Regions from separate parts of the Homo sapiens genome. Here region 2 is linked to region 1. The links are contacts of gene promoters, found by promoter capture Hi-C in human tissues and cell types (Jung and others, 2019). All regions are on one chromosome and are shown on one strand. The core of a region is centred on a gene start or on the middle of the fragment in contact, and the rest is flanking DNA. Distances in the headings are between cores, read along the strand shown. Region 1 overlaps RIN1 (Ras and Rab interactor 1). Region 2 holds the start of EFEMP2 (EGF containing fibulin extracellular matrix protein 2).

Region 1 (5,395 bases), core at 231-2,730:
CTCCGAGTAGCCTATCAGGATCCCAGCAGTGGCTGCACCTCCAAGACCCTGGCCGTGCCCCCAGAAGCCTCGATTGCCACCCTGAACCAGCTCTGTGCCACCAAGTTCCGAGTGACCCAGCCCAACACTTTTGGCCTCTTCCTGTACAAGGAGCAGGGCTACCACCGCCTGCCCCCTGGGGCCCTGGCCCACAGGCTGCCCACCACTGGCTACCTCGTCTACCGCCGGGCGGAGTGGCCTGAGACCCAGGGGGCTGTGACAGAGGAGGAGGGCAGTGGGCAGTCAGAGGCAAGAAGCAGAGGGGAGGAGCAAGGGTGCCAGGGAGATGGGGATGCTGGGGTCAAAGCCAGCCCCAGGGACATTCGGGAACAGTCTGAGACAACTGCTGAAGGGGGCCAGGGTCAAGCCCAGGAAGGCCCTGCTCAGCCAGGGGAACCAGAGGCAGAGGGAAGCCGGGCAGCAGAGGAGTAGCTTGAAGTGGCCAGAAGGGTCATTCGGGGCGGGAGACCCTGAGCCTGCTGAGAAATCCTTTTAGCGCCAGCAAGCCCCACCCAGGGCCCTGTCCTGTGTCTGCCACCACCTTTGTCTGATACTTGTTTCCAGGGAAGCTGGGGGAACTGCCACATCTGAGGAACTGGAATAAAGATGAGGGGGCTTCGGGGGCCCCCAGACTGTGTGCCCAAGGCCCCTTGCCTCTTGTTCTTCTCCCCCAGCTGAGGGTGAGCCAGCCTGCAATGAGGGTGTGCCAAGTGGGGGCGAATCCGACAGATGCCCAACCTCTGACGTGGGGAGGGTGACGGTCTCAGCTCCTTTTACCCTTCCCCTCATGGGCATGGCTGAGGCAGGGCTCCACCCAAGTATCTCCCACCAGGCTGGGACTTCCAGACCCTAAAAGGTTCCAATGGCTCTTAGGTGTCAGGAGGATTTAGAGAGGCCACAGAACAGCAGCAAAGGCTTGGGGCCCACCCCTGTCCTGGACACCAGAAGGACCTGCACCTGCAAGCCTCAGTACTCTCATCTGTAAAGTGGGGACACTATTGCTGCCCTGCTCGGCTCCCAGAAGTGTCCCAGTGATCAAAATGGGTGATTTTGCTACAAGCAGAGCTCATGGCAGAAAGGGAGGGAGAGAGCTGGGCTGCTAACTCTCTCCCGGAGTCCGCTCTCTGCCAGACAGGGCTCCCACCTGCTGATGCCCAGTTCAGGGAGGTTATTCCCCTGGAAATCAGGCCCTGGGGAGAAAGTACCCAAGTTACAGTCTCTCCCCAAGATTTGGAGTCCTCCCAGGCCCTCCAGCATCTCTGGGGAGATCCACCAGCTGGCAGATAAGCTTCCAGAATGGAGAGGGGGCTCAGAAACCATGCTCTCTGCACTAAACTCTTGGCCCTCACAAAAGCTTTACTTGGCCATGACTTGTTGGGCCCACTGAGGGTCAGGAAAGTGACTCCCAGGATGTCATATAGCAAGTCCTTAAGGGTTCCCCCGCCCAAACCAGGGCATCAGGTTCCAACTCCACCCTCCATTCTAAGCCACCCACAAAGGCCGGGGCAGCCCCCAAGGAAGCCCAGAGCAGGCAGCAAATCCAAACAAGGAAAAGTGCCGACCACCAACCACGAGGGGGTGTGCACGGCCCGGGAATCTGCCGAGAGGGTGACCACCCAGGGGTGAGGGCGCCTCCAAGGCTGCAGCAGCAGAGGGGGTCCCGGGCCTTGCAGTCCAGCAGCATCAGGCAACCTGGGGACAGCGCAGGGGCCAAGGCCACTGGCCCCCAGGTCCCTTAGATTCTGGGGTCTGGGTAAGGCCAGCCTCTTGGGGGCCATCCCCAGGAAGGAAGGAATTGTCCCCTTATGGAGGATGACCCCAGAGGCTCTCTCCTCGGGCACTGAGCACAGAGGGGACGTCAGCCCAAATGTCAGACATGACAACTGGGAGGTAGAAATCGTGGACATTGGCTTTTTGGGTTTTTTTGTTTGTTTGTTTGTTTGAGATGGAGTTTTGCTCTGTCGCTCTGGCTAAAGTGCAGTGGTGCCATCTCGGCTCACAGCAACCTTCGCCTCCCAGTTCAAGTGATTCTCCTGCCTCAGCCTCCCGAGTAGCTGGGACTACAGGTGTGCACCACCACACCTGGCTAATTTTTGTGTTACTAGTAGAGACGGGGTTTCCCCATGTTGGCCAGGCTGGTCTCAAACTCCCGACCTCAGGTGATCCGCCCGCCTTGGCCTCCCAAAGTACTGGGATTACAGGCGTGAGCTACCACACCCAGCCAGACATTGACTTTCAGATGAGCAGTCCAGATACAGCCCAGTTGCACGGCTCCCATTTTTTTTGTCACTAGGCCACCAGCAGCTCTTCCCTCCCCACTTCCACGCCCTCCCAAGGTTCTCGCTGATAGGAAGTGTCCCGTTGGCTCTTCTATTCCCCTCCCTGTTTCACCACTCACCCCTAGTGCCTCACACAGTCCAATGCTGAGCACAAATGCCATAGGTGTTCAATAAATGTTGTTCACTGATTGGAGTTTGATAACCAGGAGTGAGGGACAGTGAGGCAGAAACCTGGGGAGTATAAGGGAGGACTCGGTTCTGGGAATCAAACACGGGATGTGTCAAGCTCAGTCCCAGAGGAAGGACCTGGAATGTTTGTAGAGGGTGCTCGGAGGATCCCAGGGGCCGGATGTACAACTGGCCTCATGGGAATGAGGCTCTGGGGCCTCTACAAGCCCTTCCCACCCTTGCCAGGCTCAGCATGACCTGACCCCCTCCCTGCCCTCCCCAGTGATGGGGCACCACAGGGAGCTGCTGCCTGGGTCTTGTGGTTTTTCTTCTCAAGAAACTCTGGGCTGGGCCTGGTGGCTCACGCCTGTAATCCCAACACTTTGGGAGGCCGAGGCCGGTGGATCACCTGAGGTCAGGAGTTCAAGACCAGCCTGGCCAGCATGGTGAAACCCCGTCTCTACTAAAAATACAAAAATTAGCCAGGCGTCGTGGCACACACCTGTAGTCCCAGCTACTGGGGAGGCTGAGGCAAGAGAATCACTTGAACCCGGGAGGCAGAGGTTGCAGTGACCCGAGATCACACCACTGCACTCCACCCTGGGCAACAGAGCAAGACTCCATCTCAAAAAAAAAAAAGAAATGAAAAGAAAACAAAAAAGAAACTGATTGGTCAGGGGTCCAGGCCAAATCAGCATCAACAAGATTATGATCCTGGGGCAGAGCCTCCAGGCAAGGCAGACAATGATAGGCCAGTGTAAGACCAGTCTCACTAGCCCCATTTTACAGATGAGAAAACTCAGACTTGCTCAGGGAAAGTGCCTTGTTACAGGACAAAGGGCTCAGACACCAGGTTCTGTAGTCCTTCAAAGCAGAGGGGCTGATTTATATGTCCACTCAGCACATCTATCAAACATCTGTTATAGGCCGGGCAAGGTGGCTCAGGCCTGTAATCCTAGCACTCTGGGAGGCCGAGGTAGGCAGATCACCTGAGGTCAGGAGTTCAAGACCAGCCTAGCCAACATGGTGAAACCCCATCTCTACTAAAAATATAGAAGTTAGCTGGGCAAGGTGGCTCACGCCTGTAGTTCCAGCTACTTGGGAGGCTGAGACTGGAGAATTGCTTGAACCTGGGAGGTGGAGGTTGCAGTGAGCTGAGATCACACCACTGCATTCCAGCCTGGGCGACAGAGCAAGACTCCAAAAAAAAAAATCAAACAACAACAACAACAACAGAAGTGTCTGTTATAGACCAAGCACCAAGCGCCCCCAGCTCCAGCCAAAGGGAAATAGGTCACATCTCTCCATTTGCATGGCGTGATCTGGGTGGTAACTGAAAGCTCACTGTGTCCTAGGGATTCCATGCCACCCCTTCCCCAGCCTTTGTCCTTATGGAAAAAGAAGCCAAGGCTCCAAGAGGTGACATGCCTGGCCCAGCGTCCGCTGCTGCAGGGCAAGACTGGAACTCTGACGTTTGGATCTATGAAAGAGCAGTCGGGTCATTTCCTTACTTGGAAGCATTGACCTTATCACTCCTAAAGTCACGGTGGTTCTGTATGCAAGTTTATTGTCTGTTTCCCTCACTAGAATGCCAGAGCCACCCCCACCTTGTTCGCAGTTAAATCTCAAGGGCCTTGAACAATGGCCGGGCCGGAACTGGCACTTGTGAATCTATGTGGAATGACTGATTCGGAAAGACGCAGCCTAAACTGTCCCTCCGCTTTCCTGGGTTGCAGGGTGGCGCATCCTTCATTGCTGCCACCAGGGGGCAGAGCGCACCTCATTCCTGGCCACGTGCAGGGTCCCCTCTGCTGAGGCGGAGGACCCAGGGGACTCAGTGCTCCCAGCCTGCTGCTAGGAGGAAAGCACCCAGTGGTGGGTCCCTGGGACCCTGCGAATGGGGGGTGAGGGAAGGGCTGCATATCCCTGGTTCTGTGGGCCAGTGTGCTCTAGGAACCAGGGGCCTACTGGTGGCCTGAAAGGGTTGCAGCAGAAGGCAGTCATTGAGACCCACCCTACCCTGCCACACCTTCAACACAGAGCATCTAGCACCCTGCCATGGCCTTGCAACCCATGTTCACACCCACAATTAACACACAGTGACACTGTCTGACCCACATTCCCACACAGGGTGCACATCCTGCCAGCCACGGGCACGTGCAACAACCCTGGGGCACCCCCAGGGTTAACAGGCACACCCTGACACTGTCAGCCATTCACTCCTGCGGGATGGGGTGCAGGGACACACTGGCGCCCCTCCTCCCAGACACACCCTGACACAGACCAGCCACCCACTCAGACATCCCTGGATCTGCAAACACTGAAATATTTCAGCACCCTTGTTCTTGGGTTCAGAGTGTGACTCCTGGACACACACATGGGGACAGGCTGACACAGAGACACATGGTGACCACCTACACTGGGATCCCATGATGCACTAGACCTACCTGTGCAGAACTGCCACCGGCACACTCCATCCCCCACTCAGACGCAACGGCGCACACTCTCCCGAGACACAGCACACGGCTGCCCCTTCCCACTCTCCAAGCATTTGAAGTGCAAACACACACAGAGACACACTCACAAAGACACACACAGAAACTCACAGAGACATACACACACAGACACACAGAGACACACACACACAGACACACATAGACACACAGAGACACACACACAGACACACAGACACACAAAGACAGACACACACACACATAGACACACAGACACACACACACAGACACACACAGACTTTTATACTTTGGAGCACACAGAAGCGGTCCAAGCCCTCTCCCGAGTCTCCTCACTCCAGCCCTGTCCTGTCCCACCACCACTCACCCACCCCAGCCCATGCTAGACCCTGGTGGGAGATGTGGGTTGCTGGAAAAGACCCCCATGAGGGGTGTGGT
Region 2 (5,364 bases), core at 804-3,303, 460 kb after region 1:
TGTGTGGATGTACTGCATCTTGTTATTCATCAGTTGACGGCTTTTGTGTTGTTTCTGCATTTGGCTCTTATATATAGTGCAGCTATAAACGCTGCGTACAGATTTGTGTGTGTGTACATATCTTTTCAATTATCCTAGGTATGTATACCTAGGAGTGAAATTGTCAGGTCATGTGATAACATTTTGAGGAACTGCCAGACCATTGTCCACCAACAGTGCATGAGGGCTCCAGTTTCTCCGTATCTTTGCCAACACTTGTTACTGTCTTTCTCGTTTTAAAGAGCTATTATTATTATTACTATTTTTGAGATGGAGTCTCGCTCTGTCGCCCAGGCTGGAGTGCAATGGCACAATCTCGGCTCATTGCAACAACTGCCTCCCGGGTTTAAGAGATTATTCTGCCTCAGACTCCCGAGTAGCTGGGATTAGAGGCACGTGCCACTACACCAGCTAATTTCTTTGTGTTTTTGTAAAGACAGGGTTTCACCATGTTGGCCAGGCTGGTCTTGAACTCCTGACCTTGTGATCTGCCCACCTTGGCCTCCCAAAGTGTTGGGGTTACAGGCGTGAGCCACCGCGTCGGGCCTATTATTATTATTATTATTTTAAGATGGAGTCTCCCTCTGTCACCCATGGAGTGCAGCAGTGTGATCTGGGCTCTCTGCAACCTCCACCTCCCGAGTTCAGGTGATTCTCCTGCCTCAGGCTCCTGAGTAGCTGCGACTACAGGCACGCGCCACCACGCCTGGCTAATTTTTATATTTTTAGTAGAGACGGGGTTTCACCATGTTGTCCAGACTGGTCTCGAACTCCTGACCTCAGGTGATCCACCTGCCTCGGCCTCTCAAAGTGCTGGGATTACAGGCTTGAGCCACCGCGTCCGGCCCCTAAAGAGCTATTATTTAACCTTCTGCCCCAGCAGCTGGGAGGGATGGTGGTGGCAGAGTGGCGAGGAGCGGGCACTGCGCAGTTCACCTGAGCCCCAGGCGCTCGCCGCGGGACCCACCAGCACGTCCCCTCCTCGGCAGACTCCCTCCCCGGGGTCACGTGGAGGGCGACTGCGGGGATAAGCAGGGATGGCAAGGGGAAAGGAAGGGCGGGCCCCAGGCGGGGGATCCCCGGACACGCAGTGCTTTCCCGCCTGGCCCCGCCCAAAGACGTGGGCAAACAGAGGCCACGCCCTTCCTGGGAGCCAGCCCCGCCCATACTCCGCCCCAAGGACACGCCCCCACTTCGGGCGGAGGCGGAAACCGGGCGGGGGACGCTGGTGCGAGGAGGTCGAGGAGGCGCCTTGGCACCCGACTCTGGCATCCCGCACGTCCGACATCAGCCCTGCCCTCCTTCTCAGGGGCTTCCATTCATTTTGTGCCAAAAGGGAACTGCCGCCCTCGCCCCCAAACTTGTAGCTTTGTGGATGGAGGGTGTGGGGGAGGCCGTGTGTAGTGAAAGGACCACCCGGCTGAAGACGGTCCTGGGGGTGGAGGGCAGGAGGGAGCGAGAAGGACAGTTCTGCTCCTGGGAGCCTCTCGTTCCTGGGCGAGGGTCTGGGGACCCTGGATGAAGTTTTAGGATCTTTTACAATGACGGTCTGGGGCAGAGAATAAAATTTTGCAGGGAGCAGATTGAGGGTCTGGAGGACTGGGTTAGGTGGGCTCTAGGTACCCAGGACGATCTCGGGAGGCGCACAATGAGAATCTGGGGGCTCCAGGATTACGGTGTGGGTGCACAGGATGAAATTCTGGGGGCGCAGATTAGGTAGGACCTAGGTGAGCAGGATGACATTTTTGGTGAGCGTCTGGGGGCCCCCGGGTGAGTCTGGGGGCCTGGCATCAAGGTCGGGGCCCCAGGATCGAGCACTGGGGGACCCTGGTCCGGCGCCGGGAGGCGGCTCCTGGCGGCGCCGCGGGGGACCGGGTAGGGGCCTGTGGCTGGCCGGGGGCGGAGAAGCGGGGGGTCGGGGTCCCTCCCCCTGGCGCTGGCTCAGGAATCCGCCGAAGGGCGGGCGGAGGCGCCGGGGTGGGCCGCGCCGCGGCAGGCGGGCGGGCGGGGGGCGCTTCCTGGGGCCGCGCGTCCAGGGAGCTGTGCCGTCCGCCCGTCCGTCTGCCCGCAGGCATTGCCCGAGCCAGCCGAGCCGCCAGAGCCGCGGGCCGCGGGGGTGTCGCGGGCCCAAGTGAGTGGCTGTGACCGTCCGTGGGGGAGGGCGTGGGCCGGAGTCTCGGCCGAGTCCGCGGCAGCGTAGCGCCCACAGAGGCCCGCGCTCCTCGGCCTTCGCCGCAGGGGCGCGGGGCGGGGGCGGGGTGGCCGGGGCGGGTGGGCCTGGGACCCGGGCCTGGGACCTGGGCCTGTGAGGAGTCGGCCCCCAGCCCTGGGAGGCCCCGAGGCCCAAGCACGGTCCTGAGCGGGCAGTGGCGGGGGCTGGGCTCGGGCTCCCGGTACAGGGAGTTGAGGTGCCGCGGGCAGAGGCCCCTGACCCGTGTCCACCATCTCGCAGCCCCAGGATGCTCCCCTGCGCCTCCTGCCTACCCGGGTCTCTACTGCTCTGGGCGCTGCTACTGTTGCTCTTGGGATCAGCTTCTCCTCAGGATTCTGAAGAGCCCGACAGCTACACGGTGGGGACAGTGAGGGCCGCTGGCCTGGGACAGGAAGGGTAGGGAGGAAGAGACCGGGACCCAGGGTGACTGCTGCCGGGGAAGTCTTCCTCCCCTGGCTGGTGGAGAGCTGGGGGCCATTGTTTGGAGCAGGCCGGAGGGTGGCCAGGCTCAGGCCCTAGTCTTGGCCTGGCCAGTTGGAGGAGATCTTAGGGTGACCACTGGCCACTTCTGGTTCCCTTCCAGGAATGCACAGATGGCTATGAGTGGGACCCAGACAGCCAGCACTGCCGGGGTGTGTGTGCCTGGGGGACCAAACACCCCCAGGAACCCGGAAAGGGATTGATAGCTGCTTTCCAAGGGACAGCCCCACCTCCAAGAACTGCCGTGGGAGCCCAGCAGCCCGTTCTATGCCCAGCTCTGCTACACAGAGGCCAGCTCTGGCTCTCTGGAGGCCAGTTGAGCTAGGGGTGGCCTCATCCTCTCCCAGAAACCCAGGAAACCTTGTCCCTACCCCTCAGAGGAGCTGGATCCTGTACGCCTTCTCTGAACCACTCTCCTGTCCCAGCTCTTTGTCTCATCACAACCTGGGAGGGTAGCGTCCCCAGGGGTGGGTAAGGAGGCCCCCCATCTTGGGCTGAGCTAGGGCTAGGGCCGTGGGGAGGGATAGAGACCCACTTGCAGGCCGAGAATGAGGGCAACAGTGGGAACAGCTGCCCCATCTCCAGCCTTGGCCAACCCTGGGGAGGGGTCCTGAGCAGGCAGACTTAGCTTGTTGAGCAGAGTGGGAAGGCTTTGCTGGGGCCACACATCTCAGAGAAGGCCGAGCTGGGTTCCTGCCTCCGCTCCCTCCAGGGCCAGCCCAGGAGACTGGCTGTGCCCAGCAGGCCCCTCTCTGCAGATGTCAACGAGTGTCTGACCATCCCTGAGGCCTGCAAGGGGGAAATGAAGTGCATCAACCACTACGGGGGCTACTTGTGCCTGCCCCGCTCCGCTGCCGTCATCAACGACCTACACGGCGAGGGACCCCCGCCACCAGTGCCTCCCGCTCAACACCCCAACCCCTGCCCACCAGGCTATGAGCCCGACGATCAGGACAGCTGTGTGGGTGAGTGGGGACTGCTCTGGTGCCTGGCTTCCAGTCCTCTCACCAGGCGTCTTAAACTCAGACCTCATGTTCCTCCCCAGCTCAAAAGGGCCACTGGTGATGTCCACACCCTCATCCAGACACTCATGTTGTTTAGGACCTGCCGCAGGTGGCCCCAGCTTGTGTGCCACTGCTCCAGCCAGCTCCGGGCCCCTCCCCTCGGTTGCTGCAGAGACACTGCAGGAAGTCTGCCTTCCAGTGTCTGTCCCCTGGGAGCCACAGGCCTTGGAGGAAGGACAGTCCAGGAATCAGTGTTGCTGGGGATGTTTGGACAGGACCTTATTTCCTGTGCAACCCCCAACATGTGGTTTTAGAGGTTAGGGGTGCCTTTCCTGATGGCTCCAGGCTGGTGAACTCTTACGCGTGCTGTTGAGAGAACCGAATACAAGTGTTGGAACTATCTGTCATGTTGGGTGGTGTGCGGGATCCCAGGCAGGGGCTGAGTGGTGTCTCTCGCAGATGTGGACGAGTGTGCCCAGGCCCTGCACGACTGTCGCCCCAGCCAGGACTGCCATAACTTGCCTGGCTCCTATCAGTGCACCTGCCCTGATGGTTACCGCAAGATCGGGCCCGAGTGTGTGGGTGAGTCCAGGAAGCAGCTTCTGTAGTCCCGGCTTTGTGTCCCTGGTCTGGCCCTTGCCCTAGCACCTGACCCCCATTCAAGCCAGGCTTCACCCCCGGCCCCTGCCACCTCACCCTCCGTCATCAGACACAGAGGACTGTAGCGGGGAGTGTTTGGGAGGTGTCCTGGCTGACCCTGCCTAATTCAGCTCCTCGGACACAGGATTATGGGTGGTGAAGCCTTGAGTCCCAGCCGGCTCGAGCCCACCTGCCCTCTGCCCTCTGCCCTCCGCCCTCCTTCTCCTGCCTCTATCCCTAGACATAGACGAGTGCCGCTACCGCTACTGCCAGCACCGCTGCGTGAACCTGCCTGGCTCCTTCCGCTGCCAGTGCGAGCCGGGCTTCCAGCTGGGGCCTAACAACCGCTCCTGTGTTGGTGAGGCTGGGCTGGGCCAGGCTCCTGGGTCCTGGGCAGGGAGGTGTGAGGTGGGGGCGCTCCCTTCTTGACCAGCCCAGGTAGAGTGGAGGCTCTGGGCTCCTCCTCCGCTTTCATCCCTCCTGTTTTTCCTGGCACCCCCAGATGTGAACGAGTGTGACATGGGGGCCCCATGCGAGCAGCGCTGCTTCAACTCCTATGGGACCTTCCTGTGTCGCTGCCACCAGGGCTATGAGCTGCATCGGGATGGCTTCTCCTGCAGTGGTGAGAGCTCCATCCCTGCTGTGTACTCCTCTGTGGACCCCCAGGCCCTAGCTATGCCGTGCCTCCTGCCACACAGTTCTCCATTTGAGGCCTCCGCCTCCTGTCACTGTGCACCCAGCTGCCTCCTGGGTACTCGACCCCGGCTGGCTGTGGAGCACTCCCAGGCTAGTGGGGGAGGCACAAGGAGAGGCAGCTACGTCCTTACTGAAGCCTACTGGTGAGACTGAGGATGTGGGTGCCACCTGTCCCACATATCAGGCTCACCTGCATTTACCTGCATTTGAATTTTGCACTAGGACAAGTCACTCCTCTCTGAGCCTGTTTCTTCTTCTATAAAATGGGTTGTCTTGAGGATTAGGTGAGAGTGT

The links. Contacts are between HindIII fragments. The study calls those that stand out against the background at their distance.
Region 2: a contact is called between the fragment with the promoter of EFEMP2 here and a fragment that was not itself captured in region 1, in 1 of the 25 tissues and cell types used here (dorsolateral prefrontal cortex).

The regions. Positions count from the first base shown.
Region 1 is chr11:66,327,352-66,332,746 of GRCh38, reverse strand. RIN1 (Ras and Rab interactor 1) reads left to right here. Exons shown (of 10, transcript NM_004292.3): 10 at 1-2,506. The coding sequence ends at 471. Among named protein-coding and RNA genes, the nearest start is that of RIN1, 6.4 kb to the left of the region's middle. The HindIII fragment of the contact is 6,220 bases long and covers 1-4,590 here.
Region 2 is chr11:65,869,489-65,874,852 of GRCh38, reverse strand. It overlaps EFEMP2 (EGF containing fibulin extracellular matrix protein 2), which reads left to right and starts at 2,053. Exons shown (of 11, transcript NM_016938.5): 1 at 2,053-2,170; 2 at 2,492-2,609; 3 at 2,835-2,883; 4 at 3,490-3,696; 5 at 4,195-4,317; 6 at 4,616-4,732; 7 at 4,877-4,996. The coding sequence starts at 2,499. RefSeq lists a silencer at 991-1,050. The HindIII fragment of the contact is 15,058 bases long and covers 1-5,075 here.